Linked DNA regions of Homo sapiens: regions 1, 2, 3, 4, 5 and 7 are each linked to region 6. Evidence: promoter capture Hi-C in 16 types of primary human blood cells and fetal thymus (Javierre and others, 2016). All regions are on one chromosome and are shown on one strand. Each heading gives the region's core, a stretch centred on a gene start or on the middle of the fragment in contact. The rest is flanking DNA. Distances are from core to core; before and after follow the strand shown.

The links. Contacts are between HindIII fragments. The CHiCAGO score rates a contact against its expected background, and 5 or more counts as called.
Region 1: a contact is called between a fragment that was not itself captured here and the fragment with the promoter of SAG in region 6, in 1 of 17 cell types (erythroblasts). The highest score is 5.1, in erythroblasts.
Region 2: a fragment that was not itself captured here is called in contact with the fragment with the promoter of SAG in region 6 in 4 of 17 cell types (naive CD8 T cells, total CD4 T cells, erythroblasts and 1 more); the score reaches 7.7 in naive CD8 T cells.
Region 3: a fragment that was not itself captured here is called in contact with the fragment with the promoter of SAG in region 6 in 1 of 17 cell types (M1 macrophages); the score reaches 5.1 in M1 macrophages.
Region 4: a contact is called between a fragment that was not itself captured here and the fragment with the promoter of SAG in region 6, in 1 of 17 cell types (erythroblasts). The highest score is 5.6, in erythroblasts.
Region 5: a contact is called between a fragment that was not itself captured here and the fragment with the promoter of SAG in region 6, in 5 of 17 cell types (monocytes, neutrophils, M2 macrophages and 2 more). The highest score is 5.6, in monocytes.
Region 7: a contact is called between a fragment that was not itself captured here and the fragment with the promoter of SAG in region 6, in 1 of 17 cell types (erythroblasts). The highest score is 6.2, in erythroblasts.

What each region holds. Positions count from the first base shown.
Region 1 is chr2:232,884,053-232,886,752 of GRCh38, reverse strand. It overlaps NGEF (neuronal guanine nucleotide exchange factor), which reads left to right. Exons shown (of 15, transcript NM_019850.3): 10 at 1,384-1,473; 11 at 2,609-2,700. Among named protein-coding and RNA genes, the nearest start is that of SNORC, 15 kb to the right of the region's middle. The HindIII fragment of the contact is 3,527 bases long and covers 1-2,700 here.
Region 2 is chr2:232,850,213-232,852,912 of GRCh38, reverse strand. GIGYF2 (GRB10 interacting GYF protein 2) reads right to left here. Exons shown (of 29, transcript NM_001103146.3): 28 at 2,504-2,651. Among named protein-coding and RNA genes, the nearest start is that of SNORC, 19 kb to the left of the region's middle. The HindIII fragment of the contact is 2,651 bases long and covers 123-2,700 here.
Region 3 is chr2:232,821,637-232,824,436 of GRCh38, reverse strand. All of the region lies in intron 21 of GIGYF2 (GRB10 interacting GYF protein 2), which reads right to left. Among named protein-coding and RNA genes, the nearest start is that of KCNJ13, 46 kb to the right of the region's middle. The HindIII fragment of the contact is 2,469 bases long and covers 175-2,643 here.
Region 4 is chr2:233,017,999-233,020,698 of GRCh38, reverse strand. No RefSeq gene overlaps it. Among named protein-coding and RNA genes, the nearest start is that of NGEF, 6.1 kb to the right of the region's middle. The HindIII fragment of the contact is 3,372 bases long and covers 1-2,700 here.
Region 5 is chr2:232,867,234-232,870,040 of GRCh38, reverse strand. It overlaps a transcript of SNORC not described here. Among named protein-coding and RNA genes, the nearest start is that of SNORC, 1.6 kb to the left of the region's middle. The HindIII fragment of the contact is 2,660 bases long and covers 47-2,706 here.
Region 6 is chr2:233,306,475-233,309,174 of GRCh38, reverse strand. It overlaps SAG (S-antigen visual arrestin), which reads right to left and starts at 1,359. Exons shown (of 16, transcript NM_000541.5): 1 at 1,153-1,359; 2 at 1-13. The HindIII fragment of the contact is 2,146 bases long and covers 242-2,387 here.
Region 7 is chr2:232,913,891-232,916,590 of GRCh38, reverse strand. All of the region lies in intron 5 of NGEF (neuronal guanine nucleotide exchange factor), which reads left to right. Among named protein-coding and RNA genes, the nearest start is that of SNORC, 45 kb to the right of the region's middle. The HindIII fragment of the contact is 4,119 bases long and covers 1-2,700 here.

The DNA.
Region 1 (2,700 bases), core at 148-2,647, 420 kb after region 6:
CCCAGAAGGCTCTCCCTGAGGTCAGCCCTGGGCCAGGGGTATGTTTTCTGTTTTTAAAGTTCTTTTCTGCTTTCATCTTCATTTTTCTTATAATGAAAGGTATTCTCTGTTTCTAATAGCTTTTTTTTTTAAAAATGAAGGTTTATTTTTTCTCTGATTTATGAAAGTAATTATACTCAATACCAGGAAACTCAGAAAATGCTTGTAAGTAAAAAGAAAATAAACTTCACTAGCCACCTCGCCCTCCCTGCCGACAGGCTGCAGCTCGCCCTAAACAGACGCCTGTGCACACACACCTGTGCACAGCACACTCGCAGGGCACACACTGCACACACGGCACACGCACAGCACATACACGCCCATACATATCACACACAATACACACCGCACACACATGGCCCCTCATCACACAGTACACACTGCACACACACACAGCACATACCACACACAGTACACACAGCACGCACACACACATACACGGCCCCTACATATCACACAATACACACTGCACACACACACAGCACATACTTATCACACACAGTATGCATAGCACACACAGCACACATGGCACATACATATCACACACAGTACACACCGCACATGCATACACAGCACACACTGCATATACACAGCACACACATGCACACATGGCACACACAGCACACACACCACTGTATTCTTTACAAAAAGGGCTTGTGGTTTAGAAACAGCTTTGCCCCGCATTCGAGTGCAGGTGGAGTCCCTGCCTCTTTCCTGGATTTCTGTTCTTGCGTATCTGCATAGATCATAACTATTTTAATCGAATCCACTGATGGCTGTTGAGGCTGGCGAGCGTGTTTCTCACTCCAGACAACATGGCAGGGAGGCCCTCGCGCACACTTCCCTGGACATGGTGCTCATTTATGTGCCCTGAGAGCCTGCGGCGAGCCTGGCCCTGTGCCGGGCCCCATGTGTCACTGCAGAATTGTCTTCCTTCAGAACGAGTCCTCGGGAGCCCCAGGAAGCGTGGGATTTTTAGGTCCCTTGGTGCCTGGGTGGCCACCCAGGGGGCTGTGGGGAGAACAGCCCGGAGCCCTGCCGGTCCGTCCAGCCTACAGAGGAGGAGGGATGCCTCACGCATGTGTTTTCTGGAGTTTGCTTCCTAGCAAGGGCAAGGCACCAACTTTCTCCACCCAAACTAACAGGTTTTCCCACTTGCCTTTGCCCCACAAGGTGCTAGAAAGAGGAGCTCCAGTCCGACTGAGACTGGCCAGCCAGCCTCAGCTGTGGGCACAGTGTCTGGTCACGGTGGTCACTCAGCCCTGTCTGTGGCCTGACCGAGCTGGAGGAAGGGGCCGGGACAGCCGGCTTTGGTGGCCTGATGTGCCCTCCTTCTTGTCCCAGGTGGTGAAGGCATGCAACGAGGGCGTCAGGAAAATGAGCCGCACGGAACAGATGATCAGCATTCAGAAGAAGATGGAGTTCAAGATCAAGGTGAACCGGTGGGATTGGTGTGAGCCTGTGCCCATGCACAGGCCCCTGGCCCCGCCCCAGAGGCACAGATCACCGCGCCTGGCTGGCCTTGCTTAGGTCCTTGGTCACTGGCCACACTTAGGATCCCCTCTGCCCCCTGACCTCCCCAGCTGAAGCCACCCCGCCTGCCACCAGGCGTCAGACACCACCACGGTGGTCCGGATCTGTCTCCTGGGAGACGGGAGTGCGGGGCTAGTGTGCGGCCCAGACCCACGCAGGGTGTGGACCCTGCTCTCACCTGCCCGCTGCGTGGCCTTGAGCAGTCAGTTTACATGGAGGATGTGGGGGGTGCTGCTCCAGGGATTCTCAAACCAGGAGGATTTGGAAGTTACCAGCTTCCCCCAAACTTCACAGAAAACTTCAGGCATTCGTGAACCCTCAGGTCCCCTGGGCCCGACTTTCTGGGAACTTGGCCACATCAGCACGCTGTGCCCACAGACGGTCCCTGAGGCCAGGCTTGGTTTGGGAGCTGAGCCCCACTAGAGGAGGCAGAGGCGGTCTTCTGGGCGTCCCATGTAGCTCCACACGGTGCTGACCGATGGCTGCCAGGCGCCTGCCCCTGAGTTGCATCGTCTGCCAGGCGGCCGTTCAGCTGCAGGCCTGGCCTCCTTGCCCCGCGGGTCCCATTCTTTCCTCTCTACTGTGAACTCAGCCCCTTCTCTGATTCTGCATCCCACAGGCAGAGCTTGGTGGGGGCAATGATGACAGACACTAGCTGCCACACTCACAGGCACACACACGGTATCCACACAGCAGTGCACACATGTAAACAGCAGTGTACATGCACACAAGCACGTGCACATAACTTTAAGCTCACATGTGGGTACACAACACAGTCCATACACATAGAAGTCCACATGCACAGCACACACACGCATAGCACACTCATGCCCACAGGGGTGCATGTTCACACACACACACACAGCCCTGCCATCTCTCTGCATCCGTCCAGAACTCGGCCTTTCCCCCCAACTTGTGCCTCATGTGTCGGGGCCCTGGGCAGGTGTCAGGGAATGTGACAGACGCAGCCCTGGGGGCATGTCCTGGGGAGGGACATTGTGGGCACAGCCTGCCTGATGCCCTTTCCCCGCTGCAGTCGGTGCCCATCATCTCCCACTCCCGCTGGCTGCTGAAGCAGGGTGAGCTGCAGCAGATGTCAGGCCCCAAGACCTCCCGGACCCTGAGGAC
Region 2 (2,700 bases), core at 199-2,698, 460 kb after region 6:
CCCTTCCTTTCTTAGATCTATAAATAGAAGATGAGATCCAAGGGAATATTTAAGTCCAAACGGTCTGACCTCATTTTCAGAGCAACCTTTTCCCTAACAGCCTATCCTCAAGTCCCAAAGCTTCTTAGCTAGAACCCACAGTTAGAATTTAAGGAATGTTTTAAAATCTATTCACCAATTTCATCCAAATTGGAAAAAATTTCAGGCTGCTCCATCCATCCTTATCAACTTTTGAGACAAGCAGAGGAAAACAGAATTGCACCAGATCTACAAGTTCCCAAACCCAGCTTTCAGGCACCAATTCTTTGTTATTATTATTTTTAAATAATATTTTAAACATTATTATTTTAAATTATTATTTTTTTGAGACGGAGTCTCACTCTGTCGCACAGGCTGGAGTGCAGTGGCGTGATCTCAGCTCACTGCAACCTCCGCCTCCTAGGCTGCTCAAGTGATTCTCCTGCCTCAGCTTCCCGAGTAGCTGGGATTATAGGCACCCACCACCACGCCCAGCTAATTTTGTATTTTTACTAGAGACGAGGTTTCACCATGTTGGCCAGGCTGGTCTCCAACTCCTGACCTCAAGCGATCCACCCGCCTCAGCCTCCCAAAGATCTGGGATTACAGGCGTGAGTCACCGCGTCTGGCTTCAGGCACCAATTCTAAAGGACAGTCCTAAAAGTTAGGTTTTACTGTCATGTTGTTTTCACCAGGGCTGGAAGGCTCTGAGGGAAAGAGAGAATCCTACCAAGGGTACAGTAAGGTTACCACCTGCCTCTCACTGTGCGGGGTCTCACGCTCTTCATGATGTCCCACAGACATTTCAAACTCAACCCAGTCAACACTCAATTCCCCTCAGCCTGTGCCATGTTCCACTGCTTATCATTTCACAGCAAATGGCAACACCATCCATCCATCCTGGTCCCCAAGCCTGAGACCTTTCCACTCTTCTTGTCCAGTTAATTCTATCCCCTACATTTCTGAAATCCATCTAACTCCTTTTCATCCCCACTACCAAAACCCTATTCCAAGTCACTGGTATCTTTTACCTAGTCTATACTGCAGCCTCCTCACTGTTCTGCCCTCCTGACAGGACAACAACCGGAACTTCCATCCTTGCGAATGTATTCTATTGCAGACAACATGGTTTTATAGCCACTAATTTTACATTCACAAATAGAAAATAATTTTAGGGCCGGGCGTGGCGGTTCACACCTGTAATCCCAGCACTTTGGGAGGCCAAGGCAAGAAGATCACCTGAAGTCAGGAGTTCAAGACCAGCCTGGCCAACATGGCAAAAACCCCTCTCTACTAAAAATACAAAAATTAGCCAGGTGTGGCGGCATGTGCCTGTAGTCTCAGCTACTCAGGAGGCTGAGGCAAGAGAATCGCTTGAACCCGGGAGGCAGAGGTTGCAGTGAGCTGAGATCACGCCACTGCACTCCAGCCTGAGCAAGAGTGAGACTCCATCTCAAAGAAAAAGAAAAAGAAAAAAAAAATGTTAGTTTCATCACTGTTGCAAAAAACATGGGCAGCCTATACTGTTTGTTATTCCTGAAACAATATTCCCCATCCTTTCTGCCATTCTTTCAAAGCCCAAATTCAGATGTCACCTTTTCAGAGAAGCTAGAGTGCAGTGGCATGATCACAGCTCACTGCAGCCTTCAACTCCTGGTCAAGGAATCCCCCTGCCTCATTCTCCCAAGTAGCTGGGACTATAGGTGGGCACCACCATGCCTGTTTTTAAAATTTTTTTTAGAGATATGGTCTCGCTACGTTACCCCAGCTGGTCTCAAACTCCTGGCCTCAAGTGACCCACCTACCTCAGCTTCCCAAAGTGAGCCACCGTGCCCAGCCTGCCTTGCATGGTCCATAATGCTAGATAAAAATAGCCGTGGGTAACACAGAAGGGTGGAAAGAAAACAGGCCTGCCTTGAAATCCCAGCATCCCATAGCAGAAAGCTATGTAACACTGGGAAATGTTCTCAATCTCTGTGCCTTGGTCTACTCATTATTGGTGAAACTGGTATGTCACCTCATAATGCAAAGTAATTCTGAGAATTATATGATACATAGAGTGATTATGAACATATACTGGTTCTCTTCTTGGAACACCTGATCGGATTAATGGTCTGCTTTCAATACAAATAAGCATTTAAGTTTTTAACATACTTTTAGTATCGTTCATTATTAGCATCATTTTCCAACTAAATTACTCAGGATCCTCCAGGGAAATTCATATTAAATATCAAACAATACTTTAAAGCACCAAACAATACTTTAAAGCACCATACAATATAAGTTGTTATTACATGAGGCACAGGTCCTGCACTGAGACGCCCAGTAAATACTGGCTACTTATTTTGAACCAGTTAAAACATTAGTTATTGATAAAAAGAAATATTTCCCTTCTTGAAAAACAATGCTCAATGGAAACTCACACAGGATAACTGGTATCACCTGCACTCCTCCAACACTCAGCTGAGACTAGGACCGTGCTCACCTAATAAACTGGGATCTGCTCGGACCATCTTCTGCTTTTTCTTCTTCTTGCCACTCTGCACAGCCTCAAAATTGGATTGTTGGTTGTTGCTTTGATTGGTCTGAAATACTGAATGGAGTGTACTGTGGTTCATCCCCCACACAGAGTCCTGTGAAATAAGCAGCATGACTGAGATTACACAGCAGATTCAGACTTGG
Region 3 (2,800 bases), core at 160-2,659, 480 kb after region 6:
TCTCCATATCAGCAATAAGGCTGTTTGGCTTTCTTGTCATTCATGTGTTCACTGGAGTAGCACTTTTAATTTTCTTCAATAACTTTTCCTTTGCATTTACAACTTAGCTAACTGGCACAGGGGGTCCTAGCCTTTGGCCTATCTCAGCTTCTGACATGCCTTCCTCACTAAGCTTAATCATTTCTAGCATTCAATTTAAAGTGTGAGACATGACTCTTCCTTTCACTTGAACCCTTAGAGGCCATTGTAGGTTATCCAATTGGCCTAATTTCCATAATGATGTGTCTCAGCGAATAGGGAGGTCGAAGGAGAGGAAGAGAGACAGGGAATAGCCAGTCAATAGTCAGAACATGCACTATAGGTATGGATTAAGTTTGCTGCCTTACATGGGCACAGTTCACGGCACTCCACAACAATTTCAATAGTGACATCAAAAATCACTTATTACAGATCACCGTAACAGATATAACAGTAAAAAAAATCTGAAACATTGCAAGAATTACCGAAGTGTGACACAGAGACAAAGTGAGCACATGCTGCTGGCCAACAGACTTGGTCGATGCAGGGCTGCCACAAGCCCTTCAATTCGTAAAAAATGAAATACGTGCAAAGCACAAGAAAGTGAAGCACAATAAAATGAGGTATGCCTCTATTCAATGAAGAAATAATTCCAATCTTACACAAACTTTTTCGGAAAACAATGAAAGTATCACATTCCAATTTAAGAGGCCAGTATAAACCTAACACCAAAAGGGGACAAAAGCATTACAAGAAAATTACAGGTCAGGTTGCGGTGGCTCACTCCTGTAATCCCACCACTTTGGGAGGCTGAGACAAGAAAACTGCTTGAGTCCAGGAATTCAAGACCAGCCTGAGCAACACAGCAAGACCCCATATCTCTACAAAAAATAAAAAAATTAGCCAGGAGTGGTGGCATGAGCATGTGGCCCAAGCTACTGAGGTGGCTGAGGTGGGAGGCTTGACTGAGCATGGTAGGTTGAGGCTGTAGTGAGCCAAGACTGCAGCCTGGGTGACAGTGTGAGACCATCTCAATAAAAAAAAAAAAAAAGAAAGAAAGAAAGGAAAAAGAGAAAGAAAATTGTAGACCTATCTCTCCCTCATGAACACAGATGCAAATATTCTTAACAAAACAGTACCAAATTAGATGCAAATATTCTTAACAAAACAGTACCAAATTAGGTTAACATATGTATCAAGTAGGGTGGTAATCCAGGAACACAAAGTTGACTTAACCTTCAAACCTCAGTTATTAATAACTCAGTTATTAATATTAATATTAATAATTCACCATATAAGCAGAATGAAAAAACTAAATGATCATCAATCAATGCAGATAAAGCATTTTACAACCTCAGTATCTATTCATTGAAAAACTTTCAGTAAACTAGGACTGGAAAGAAACTTCTTCAGCTGGATAATGGATACCTATGAAAAACTATCAATATATTTAATGGTGAAATACCGGACATTTTCACCCCAATACTGGAAATAAGGCTATTATACATTTTAACCACTTCTATCCAAGGTTGGAAAGGAAGAATTAAAACTGCTCCTATTTATCAATAAGATTCCATAGAAAATCCTAAGGAATCAACAAAAATACTATTGGAGGTACTAAGTTGAGTTTCACAAGGTGTCAGAATATAAGATCTATATATGAAAACCAATCAATTCCATTTCTATAGAACTGGCAATTCCAATTCCATAGAACTGGAAAATAAACAGCTTTTCCCCCTCCGAGACAGAGTCTTGCCCTGTCGCCCAGGCTGGAATGCAGGGGTGCCTCGGGTCACTGCAACCTCCGCCTCCCGCGTTCAAGCAGTTCTCCTGCCTCAGCCACCCAAGTAACTGGGATTACAGGCGCACGCCACCACGCCCAGCTAATTTTTGTATTTTTAGTAGACACAGGGTTTCACCCTGTTGGCCAGGCTGGTCTCGAACTCCTGACTTCGTGATCTGCCCGCCTTGGCCTCCCAAAGTGCTGAGATTACAGGCATGAGCCACTGCACCCAGCCTGCTGGAAAATAAACTTTTAAAATTCCACTCATAATAGCAAAAAAGAAAAAAATCAGTTTTTTAAAGATGTACATAACCTGTATAACGAAAACAAAATGGTACTGAGAAAAAACAAGGAAAACATAAACAAATGGAAAGTTATACCATGTTCATTGCCTGGAAGCCTCAGTATATCTTAAAATGTGAATTCTCTTCAATTTAGATTCCACACAATCCATATCATAACCACAGGAGGCTTTTACTTATATAGAAATTAAGAAGATAATTTTAAATTTTAATAGGAAGGCAAAAGATCTTAGTCAAGCAGTCTTGAATAAAAAGGCAAAGCTGGAAGACATACTGACTTACTTCTGTTACTATAAAGGTACAGTAGTAATCAAATCAGTGTGTACTCATTTAAGGACAGGCAAACTTATCAATGGAAGAAAAGGGAAGAGTCCAGTAAAAAAAAAAAAAAAAATATTTATACAATTGACTTTGACAAAAGCATCAAAAATTCAATAGAAAAAGTAAAGACTTTGCAAAAACAGGCACTGGAACAACCCATACCTCATATCATACAGAAAAAACAATTCAAACTATTTGTAAAACGAAAACTATAAAGCTTTAAAAAAAATACAGGAGATATTTTAATAATCTGTAGGTTGGCAAGTATTTCTTACATAGAAACAAAAAAACACTAATAAAAGACAAATTTAATAGGATTTCATCAAAATTAAAAATCTCTGCTTATCAAAAGATCCCCCTAGGAAAATAAATAGAC
Region 4 (2,700 bases), core at 195-2,694, 290 kb after region 6:
AGTGGGAAGTGGAGAGAACAGGTGCAGTCAGGAAGACTTCCTGGAGGAAGAGGTAAGACCTGGGCTAGACCAGGAAGAAAAGTGAAATGTAAGAAGCAGAGGAGAACATTTCAGTGGAGAGCACAGGGCCCAGCACACAGTGGGTGCTCTGTTGGATTCTGAGGAAGGGAGGGGAGAGGTGTGGAGAAAAATCCCTGTGGTCAGGGGATGGTGCCTGGCTTTCCAGGATCGTCATTACTTTAATCTGTTTTCTTTTTGATGGCTTTTATGATTTTTTCTTTCTCCTTGATGTTCTGCAGTTCCATTATGGGCTGTTCAGGTGTGAATTCACTTTCATTCACCCAGCCTAGGACTCAGCACAGTTTTTCAACCCAGAATTCAGGTCTTTCTCCAAACCTAGAAAAATCCTCAGTCATTATTTCTTTGAATGTAACCTCTCCTCCTTGAGTTTTTAAAATTTATTCTGTAGATTTTGTTTTTGCTTCTTTCATATTTTCCATGTCTTTACCTGCTGGTGCTTCATTCTGGGTAATTTTCTCAGATATCTCTTCCAAATCACTAAATCTCACTAAATCTTTTTTATTATTATTATTATACTTTAAGTTCTAGGGTACATGTGCACAACCTGCAGGTTTGTTACATATGTATACATGTGCCATGTTGGTGTGCTGCACCCATTAACTTGTCATTTACATTAAGTGTATCTCCTAATGCTATCCCTCCCCACTCCCCCTACCCCACGACAGGCCCCGGTGTGTGATGTTCCTCTTCCTGTGTCCAAGTGTTCTCATTGTTCAATTCCCACCTATGAGTGAGAACATGCAGTGTTTGGTTTTTTGCCCTTGTGATAGTTTGCTGAGAATGATGGTTTCCAGCTTTATCCATGTCCCTACAAAGGACATGAACTCATCCTTTTTTATGGCTGCATAGTATTCCATGGTGTATATGTGCCACATTTTCTTAATCCAGTCTATCATTGATGGACATTTGGGTTGGTTCCAAGTCTTTGCTATTGTGAATAGTGCCACAATAAACATACGTGTGCATGATGGGACGTATCTCAAAATAATAAGAGCTATTTATGACAAACCCACAGCCAGTATCACACTGAATGGGCAAAAACTGGAAGCATTCCCTTTAAATCTCACTAAATCTAAAGTCATCTCTATTTAATATTTTATATGTATATTTGAGATGGAGTCTCACTCTGTCACCCAGGCTGGAGTGCAGTGGCACAATCTTGGCTCACTGCAACCTCCGCCTCCTGGGTTCAAGCGATTCTCCTGCCTCAGCCTCCCAAGTAGCTGGGATTACAGGCACCCGCCACCAGGCCCAGCTAATTTTTTTATATATTTAGTAGAGACAGGGTTTCACCATGTTGGCCAGGCTGGTTTTAAACTCCTGACCTCAAGTGATCCACCTGCCTTGGCCTCCAAAAGTGCTAGGATTGCAGGCATGAGCCACTGTGCCCGGCCTACATCAATATTTTTTATTTCTACAACTTCTACCTTAAAAAATAATAATTTTCTTTTCTTATTTGATAGATTGTATTCCTTTATCTCATTAAGCACTTTAAGTGTATTTATTTCTAACAGTTTTACATACATTAATTTATTTAATTCTAACAGCAACTCTATGAAACAGGTGCTGTTTATCACCCCAATTTTGCAAAGCAGAAAATGAGGCAAAATGTGATTATGTGACTATTCCAAGGTCACACAATTAGTGATTTGTTGATTGAGATTTAAAAGCAGAAACAAAGGCATTTGAGCTGTTATGGGCTAAATTGTGTAATCTCAAAATTCATACGTTGAAATCTTCACCCCCAGTACTTCAGAATGTGACTATATTTGAAGATAGAGCCTTATTTATTTATTTATTTATTTAGAGATGGAGTCTCACTCTGTTGCATAGGCTGGAGTGCAATGATGCAATCTTGGCTCACTGCAACCTCCACCTCCCAGTTTCAAGCAATTGCCCCAGCCTCAGCCTCCTGAGTAGCTGGGATTACAGATGTGTGCCACCACATCCAGCTAATTTTGTATTTTTAGTAGAGACGGGGTTTCATCATGTTGGTAAGGCTGGTCTCGAACTCCTGACCTCAGGTGATCCACCTGCCTCAGCCTCCCAAAGTTCTGGGATTACAAGCGTGAGGCACTGTGCCTGGCCAATGGGGCCTTTAAAGAGGTAATTAAAGTAAAATGTGGTCATACGGGTGGGCCCTAATCCAATAAGATTGGTGTCCTTATAAGAAGAGAAAATTAGGACACAAAAGCGTGTGCACACACAGAGGAAAGACAGAACACAGAGAGAAAGCCACCACGTGCAAGCCAAGGAGAGAGGTCTCTGAAAAACAAATCTGCTGATACCTTGATCTTGAACTTTCAGCCTCCAGAACTGTAAGAAGTTTCTGTTGCTTAAGACTCCCAGTCTGTGGTAATTAGTTATAGCAGCCCTAGCAAACTAATACACTTACCTTCTTCACACACAAACATTTCTAACCTTTTCCTCCATCCAAGGTCAAGTACTTATGAATGCCAAGTTTGCTAAAACTTGTTATCATCTGACTGAGGCCAGGAGAGTCTTAATGGTTGTACTTTGAAATCCCAAGAAGGTAATTATGTCACACACCCACTTCTGAAATGAAACGCATACTTAGTTTTTAAGGTCTTTTTAAATATTGTTCTATTGTTTCTATTT
Region 5 (2,807 bases), core at 127-2,626, 440 kb after region 6:
TCCCACATTTACTCCTGGACCACTGAAAATGAAAGGTTTTCAAGCTTTCTTGTGCAAAAGAATCACCCAGGGAACTTGAAACATGCTGCTGCCTCTGGCCACTGTGTTTCAGTGGGGCTTGGGTAGCCCAGGGAATCTGCATGTTAGTGCCTGTGGCCTGGGCTTGGGGAAATTTGGCCTGAAGCAGGCAGCACTGAGTGCAGGACGGACTCTGCTCACCTCTGGGTTCTCCATGCCTGGCCCGGAGTAGGTGCTCAGTGCTTGTTGAAGAAGGACTTTTAAAGCAGTTTTGATCCAAACCCTCAGGCAGCTCTAGTCTTTCCTAAAACGCTCCTGTTTCCTCTTTCGCTCTCTGCCTCCCTAGACCCCTGTGCACTTATGACATCCATTTCCAGGCTGGGCCTGGCTCAGAACTTAGCCCCACTGCCCACTGCTTCTCAACAGCCCCGCAGGGTATCTCACGAGCGGCTACAACTTACAGTGTCCAAAGCAAACCTTGACTCTACTGCCCCTTCCCTCACTCAGTCAGTGGAATCCCAGTTCCCCGCTCCCAGATGTTCTAGCCACACAATGAAGTCATCAAAGGTGTCTCTTTCCCTCACTTCCCACGTCTGAGCCCTCAGAGTTCTGTCAGCGCCCCCTACTTCACACCTTGATGGTTTCCCACCGCGCTAAGGGCTTGCCTCGGCCCTGCTCAGCTTCCCACCCACGAGCTCTATGTTTCAGTCCACTGGCCGTGACTAGGCTCCCCCAACAAACCCCCAGATCCTGCCTCAGGCCTTTGCATGTTCCCCTCTCCTCCCAGAAGGCAGTCCTGTGGTGATTATGTGGCCACCCCTTCCATTCAAGCCTCAGCTTGATAAGTCAGCCCCTCAATCCCCCCATCACTTCAAATTTCTTTTTAGCATGCGTATTTATATGAAATTACCTTGTACCTACCCTAACAACTTCTCCTTGCCTCCATATCCATAACTAGAATCAGGTATCAGCATTCCTAGGGAGAGCAAGCACAAAGTCTGACTTAGGAGGAAATAAGCACAAACTAAAAACTACTGTTAATTTATGCTAGCAATAAATTAGTATCAAGTTAGTAAGATACGAATTTTGCTAATTTATATTAATAGAAACATGGTGTGGGAATGAATTCTAAGGTGTCAGACTAAATAGGCAAGATGTGAGTATGACATTAGATCCGGCCACATTCTAGACAGGGGTGTGCTTAGTGAAGTCTGAATTTAATGTTTCAACCTAAGCATCTAGGAGCAGCTCTGTTTGGCTGGCTGACCAAAACCTAGGCTCAGTAAAAGCCTGGATGCTATGAGATTGAGAAGCCTAACTTAATGAAGAAGGGGATACCAATGGCTTAGTAAGAAAGGAATGTTGGGGTGGATTTATCTTTGGCGACCACACTAAGTTCTCAGTAGGTCCCATAGTACACACTATTCACCAAGACACTGCGAGATGCATTAGTGAAGACCGGCAACTTTAAAAAGATAGGTTGTGGCTGTTTTTTGTAGGCCAGAGTTGATGATGGGATCACTGATTTCAGAGGAAATAATGTGATTCTAAAGTAGCAGAGGCCAAGCGGCAGCAGAGGCCGGGTGGACGCCAACCCTGCCATGGATGGTGAAGATGAAATGACCTGGCCAGGTGCGGTGGCTCCCGCCTGTAATCCCAGCACTTTGGGAGGCTGGGGCAGGCGGATCACTTGAGGTCAGGAGTTCAAGACCAGCCTGACCAACATGGCGAAAACCCATCTCCAATAAAAATATGAAAATTAGCCAGGCATGGTGGTGCACACCTGTAGTCCCAGCTACTTGGAAGGCTGAGGCACAAGAATTGCTTGAGCTTGGGAGGTGGAGGATGCATCTCAAAAAAAAAAAAAAAAAAGATGAAATGACCCATCAGAATGTTTTGATCCCTAGGAATAAAACAGCCAGCCAGTCTACTAATGTATTACTTGATATACAAAAATGAACAGGTGAGCAGAAATCTGTATTTACTATAATGGAGCATCAAGGTTCTCACTTGGTTCCCAGAACCAAAATCTCTTGATAGAGAGGGAGGCAATTTATCTTTAAGGAAGGACCCTGCAAGATGGCCACAAGTACAGACAATGAATCTTCTTCCAAATCTTCCTCAAAGGTTTAGGCAGTCGTGGACCAGAATAGCTGGGCACTGGCGGAAAGGAGATGCATTTGTATTTCAGGGATCACTAGACTTTGGCTTTTTGCTGACACTCATCTTTGGATATTCAAAATGTCACTGTGTTTACCAAAGTGAAAGTGTATGGAAGTCAAGTGACATATGGATGATAGGGAGGGAGGCAGGCTGCCCAGGGGCAGCAGTGGGCTGAGAACCCACCCTGGGGAGGCAGGACGAGGCAGGCGTGAGCCAAGGCTGCAAGCTGCTGCTGCGTGCTCCACTATTCCATCAGACTTTACTTATAAAACTCAAATTTCAAAGATAAAATTAAGAATTTCAAGACAATGAATTGTATTTCAAATGATTATTATAACCATGCTAAAGGTAGAAAAAAATACTTAGACCAGACAAAAAGTCTAAAATTACAGATAGCTGCAATGAATAATACTATACATATGTATTTTTATAATGTTGGAGTGTCTTTAAGCAAGTATAGAACTCTACTTGGAAAACTTGTCTCTAGTTAGAGCTAACACATATAGAACTCTAGTTTAGAAAGCTTGTCTCTCTTGGTATGGGTTAGCAATTCTGTAACCACTTTGGTATATCCTAGGATTTAGCAAATAAGGAAATACTGAGGATTATGGAAGTGCACAGTAGTA
Region 6 (2,700 bases), core at 110-2,609:
CAACTTCTACCACCTTGGGGTGTTGGTCAGGTGTTAGAGGGTTGGAGAAAGGTAAGACAATCCTAAATATCAAGTCAAGAACATCCTAGTTATGAAACCTACTCACGAGATCCTGTGCGTCCTCACCATGCCCTTGTACCGGCTTCAACATCCGAGTTTCATCGGTGAGTCTTTGCTTAGTTTGTATTTTACTGCAGCATGCTTTGGGGTGTTTTCAATATTTTATTTTTCTTGGTAAGCTTCAAACATTTCTCAGTACACCTTGCCAGGGAGTCTAGCTAGATTCCAATGAGGTTTTACTTTCTGACTAACCTTTGGTGTTATCACACTTAGCCAGGTTGAATTTAAAGTTCTATCGTGACTGTGTCTAATGGCGAATAAATCAGAAAAGTTCCTGAAAACCACAACATAACCACTTCGCAAAGACTGTTTTCAAGAAGATATTAATGGCCGGGCACTGTGGCTCACACCTGTCATCTCAACATTCTGGGAGGCTGAAGCGAGAGGATCATTTGAAACCAGGAGTTGGAGACTGGCCTGGGCAACATAGCAAGATCCTATCACTTTTTTTAAAAAAAAAGAATATATTAAAATCCCAAAAGTTCTATTTGGCAATTCCTACTAAGAGATAGCCACTCTGTTTTACAATTAAGAGGCCATCTTAGCGGTCTAGAATTAAGCATACTCTGAGGTTTTTTTTTTTTTTAAGATATAGGAGCTCGTTCTGTTGCCCAGGCTGGAGGGCAGTGCCACAATCATAGCTCACCGCAGCCTCGAACTCCTGGGCTCGTGATCCTCCTGCCTCAGCCAGCTGAGTAGCCAGGACTACAGGTGTGTGACACCATGCCTAGCTAATTTATTTTTATTTTTGTTTTTTTGTAGAGACTGGGTCTGACTGTATTGCTCAAGTTGGTCTCGAATTCCTGGCTTCAAGTGATCCTCCAGCCTCAGCCTCCTGAGTCACTGGGACTATAGGCATGAGCCATTGCACCCGCTCACTCCAAGTCTCCTTAAATAGCAACCAAGTCTTATGGAAACCACACAGAAAAGGTGAAGGCGGGACATACTGTCTGCAGGAAAACGCCCATCCTTGCTCTTCCCCACACCTGCCCCAGGTTTCTGATAAGGTTTTGGCCTGTGGTGGTCACATACCTTGTGATTTGTCACCAACCAGGTGGGAAGGGCCGGGTGGCAAGGAGAGGGTCTCTATGCTCTGAGATGATGAATAGCCAGCCCCTGTTCTGAGCAAGCTGGTACCGTCTTGCCAGATGAGCCTGAAGGGGCACCGCTGAGGCTCCTGGCCTACGTATGTGGGGAATTTGTAGGGGATCTAGCGAGGATGCCCAGCATCCAGGTCTCAATGTCTAAAAGCCAAATCCCACTTAAGGAGCAGAGTTGGATTAGTGCTGAGACAGTGAACTGGTAGTTTCAGCAGTTCTAAGCATTAAGCAACACCCCCCGCCCCGGTCTCCATACGGAGGGTCTCACAGATGTATGAGTCACCCAGCTGACTTGGGGAAGGTTGGTGGGAGGGCCAACAGCTAAATGAAAGCTACTTTTTCTTCTAAACCTCTTTGGATTCTGGAAATAGACTGATTATCTCTTCATTCCCGGGCATTGCCAGGACAGGAAGAGATTTGATTAAACTCAGCAGGCAGCTAATGCGACCTTGCGGGTGGGGACTAAACAAAAAGGTCAAGGAGAAATGTCAACCTCAAGATGAACCTGGTGTTATGCAAGCCAAGCTGGATCTGTCCCTCTCCTCCACCCGGTCCTACTGATTGATGGCTTCAGGAGTCCTGTTGATCCCCTCAGTGTCTCTGGAACCTGTCTGCATCCTCCCATCCCCAGCACCGCCTTTGCTTCTCAGGACCGGAGTGATTCCCCACTGTCTGACTACATCTATTTCTTTTCTTTTTTTTGTTTTGTTTTTTGTTTTGAGATGGAGTCTTGCTCTGTCTCCCAGGCTGAAGTGCAGTGGTGCAGTCTCAGCTTGCTGAAACTTCTGCCTCCCAGGCTGAAGTGCAGTGGTGCAGTCTCAGCTTGCTGAAACTTCTGCCTCCCAGGTTCAAGTGATTCTCTTGCCTCAGCCTCCAGAGTAGCTGGGACTACAGGCGCCTACCACCACACTGAGCTAATTTTGTATTTTTAGTAGAGACAGGGTTTTACTATGTTGGCCAGGCTGGTCTCGAACTCCTGACCTCAGGTGATCCACCTGCCTCGGCCTCCCAAAGTGCTGGGATTCCAGGAATGAGTCACCGCACCCAGCCGACCACATTTATTTCTACCCTCCAAGCCCTTTTCCACACAGAGGCAGAGAGACCTTCTGAGCCCTGTCATCCCTCGCTTACAATCACCCATTGCTCTTAGAATGCAGGCAAAAAGCTTGCAGCCTCTGGAACCTCTGCCTGCCTTTCCTTCCACGCCGTCTGCCACGCTTCCTCCTTCCCACTATTATTTCTGCCTGGAACAAGCCTCTCCTCTCTCCACTTTGTTGACTCTTCTTGGCCTTTCAGATTTTTGACCAGGAGTCACTTCCTCAGGGGAGCTATCCCCAACCTCCAGGACCAGATTGGAGGCACGCTTGCATTTCACTCTTTTTTTTTTTTGCTTTCGAGATAGAGTCTCACTCTGTTGCCTGGGCTGGAGTGCAGTGGCGCGATCTCGGCTCACTGCAGCCTCCACCTCCTGGGTGCAAGC
Region 7 (2,700 bases), core at 199-2,698, 390 kb after region 6:
CTGTTTCCATTGCTTTATCTATCAATGCCTGTTCTTATCTTTTCCCCCTTTTCTGTTGGGTTCTTTACATTTATCTTCTTGATTTGTAGCAGCTTTTTGTACCTTCTGGATATTAATTCTTTTTTTTAATATTTTCAAATGTTTTCTCCTGCACGATAATATAAGGGACGCAATTTGTGCACAGCCACTGGTGCCCAACTGCCTAGGTTTCTCAGCTCCGCTACTTCTTAGCTGTGTGACCTTAGGCAAATTACTTAACTTCTCTGTGCCTTATCTGTAAGATGGAAATCCTAGTACCTACCTCTCAGGCTTGTGCAGATTGAATAAATAACACAGATAAGGAGCTGAAGACAGTGCGTGGCAAAAAGCTGACATTATCAAGGGCTTATGTGCCCTCTCACTTGGTCCATGGCATCTTCTTTTTGGATAAAAATCCTTTTTCCATTTTGATAGCAAATCTTTCAGTACTTTCATTTATTTAAACCTAATCTTCGGATGTTGTGTCTTATGATTAGAAAGGCTGTTCCCAAGAGGTACACTTTACAGTGAAAAGGTAATGGCTGGGAACTGTTATGAACTAGACAAAAAGATAGAGCAGAAGGCAGGGCACAGAGGCTCTTGCCTGTAATCCTAGCATTTTGGGAGGCCAAGGCAGGTAGATCACCTGAGGTCGGGAGTTCGAGACCAGCCTGGTCAACATGGTGAAACCCCATCTCTACTAAAAATACAAAAATTAGCTGGGCGTGGTGGTGTGCGCCTATAGTCCCAGCTACTTGGGAGGCTGAGGCAGGAGAATCGCTTGAACCTGGGAGGCAGAGGTTGCAGTGAACCAAGATCACGCCACTGCACTCCAGCCTGGCAACAGTGAGACTCCACCTCAGAAAAAATAAATAAATAAATAGAGCAGAATCTGTCAGAAACAAGAGGAGACGTTGCCATGCGCACTCCACTATCCTACAGGAGTGGGACCCAGCAGGAAGATGGGGAATCAGAAAAAAATAATTAGGTTGGATGAAAAGATTTGTACTGAACTTTATACTCTCTAGAGCTGCCCTGCCCGCTCTGACAGCCACCAGCCACACGTGGCTGCTGAACACGACATGTAATGAATCCAGTTGAGATGCAGTGTGTGTGTAAAATGCACACCAAATTCCAAAGAATAGAAAGAATTGAAAGAGATAAATACAAAATTAAATGAACTTCTGAGATGCCAGCTTGAGACATTAGGGGAAAACACACAACAAACACTCCTAAGGAGAACAGAGAGGACAGAGATCCAAGAAGATACTATGCAAAAGTCTTGATAAGATGAATGATTAGAAAAAACAGATGAATGATTTTCTAGGAAAATATAAGCTACTACCAATGGAATCAAAAGTAAAAATTTTAAATACACAAAAATATACCAGTAACCCCAAAAAATCACCTACAGGAAAGATGTGGCACCCAGAGGACTCCTGTTCAAATCCCAGGAGAGCCAGGAGGGTCTGGGGTTACTTAGGCTGGCCTGCAGCAGAGCCGTCTGGTGGAATTCCCTGCCTTGATGAAAATGTTCTTTTTTTTTTTTTTTTTTGGAGATGGAGTCTTGCTCTGTTGCCCAGGCTGGAGAGCAGTGGCACAATCTCGGCTTGCTGCAGCCTCTGCCTCCCAGGCTCAAGCGATTCTTCGGCCTCAGCCTCCCGAGTAGCTGGGATTACAGGCGTGCACCACCACGCCCAGGTAATTTTTGTATTTTTAGTAGAGACAGGGTTTCACCATGTTGGTCAGGCTGGTCTTGAACTCCTGACCTCGTGATCCACCCACCTCAGCCTCCCAAAGTGCTGGGATTACAGGCGTGAGCCACTGCACCTGGCCAGAAATGTTATTTTGTATTTTATTATTATATTTTTTGAGACAGTCTCACTCTGTCACCCAGGCTGGAGTGCAGTGGCACAATCTTGGTTCGCTGTAACCTTAGCCTCCTGGGTTCAAGCAATTCTCGTGCCTCAGCCTCCCAAGTGGCTGAGACTACAGGTGTACACCACTACACAAGGCTAATTTTTCTATTTTTGGTAGAGATAGGGTTTCACCATGATGGCCAGGCTGGTCTCAAGCTCCTGAGCTCAAGTGATCTCCCTGCCTCAGCCTCCCAAAGTGCTGAGACAGGTGTGAGGCACCATGCCTGGCAATGATGGAATGTTCTACATCATGTCTCCAATAGTCACTAGCTCCGTGTGGCTACCGAGCATTTGAAACTGGTCAGTGCAACTAAGAAACTGAATGTTTAATTCCACCTGGTTTAAACAAACATCAGTTTAGCCACATGTTGCTACTGTGTTGATCAGCGTAAGTCTAGAGCAGAGATCATCAAACTTTCTGTTAAAGGGCCAGATAATAAATGTGTTAGGCTTTGTAGACCATACTGTCTGTCAGAACTACCCAGCTCTGTCGTTGTGGTGTGACAGCAGCTATAGACACTGTGTAAAGGAATGAGTGTGGCTGTGTTCCAGTAAAACTTTATTTACAAATACAAGTGGCCAGCCCATGGGCTGTAGTTTGCTGACCCCTAGTCTAAAGCATGGAAAAGAGAGAAATACACAAATTATCTGAACACAGTATAATATTGATAACCAAATCTGAAAATTAGGGTACAAACACAAAATTATTTTATTTTATTTTACTTTTATTTTTTGAGATGGAGTCTCACTCTGTTGCCCAGGC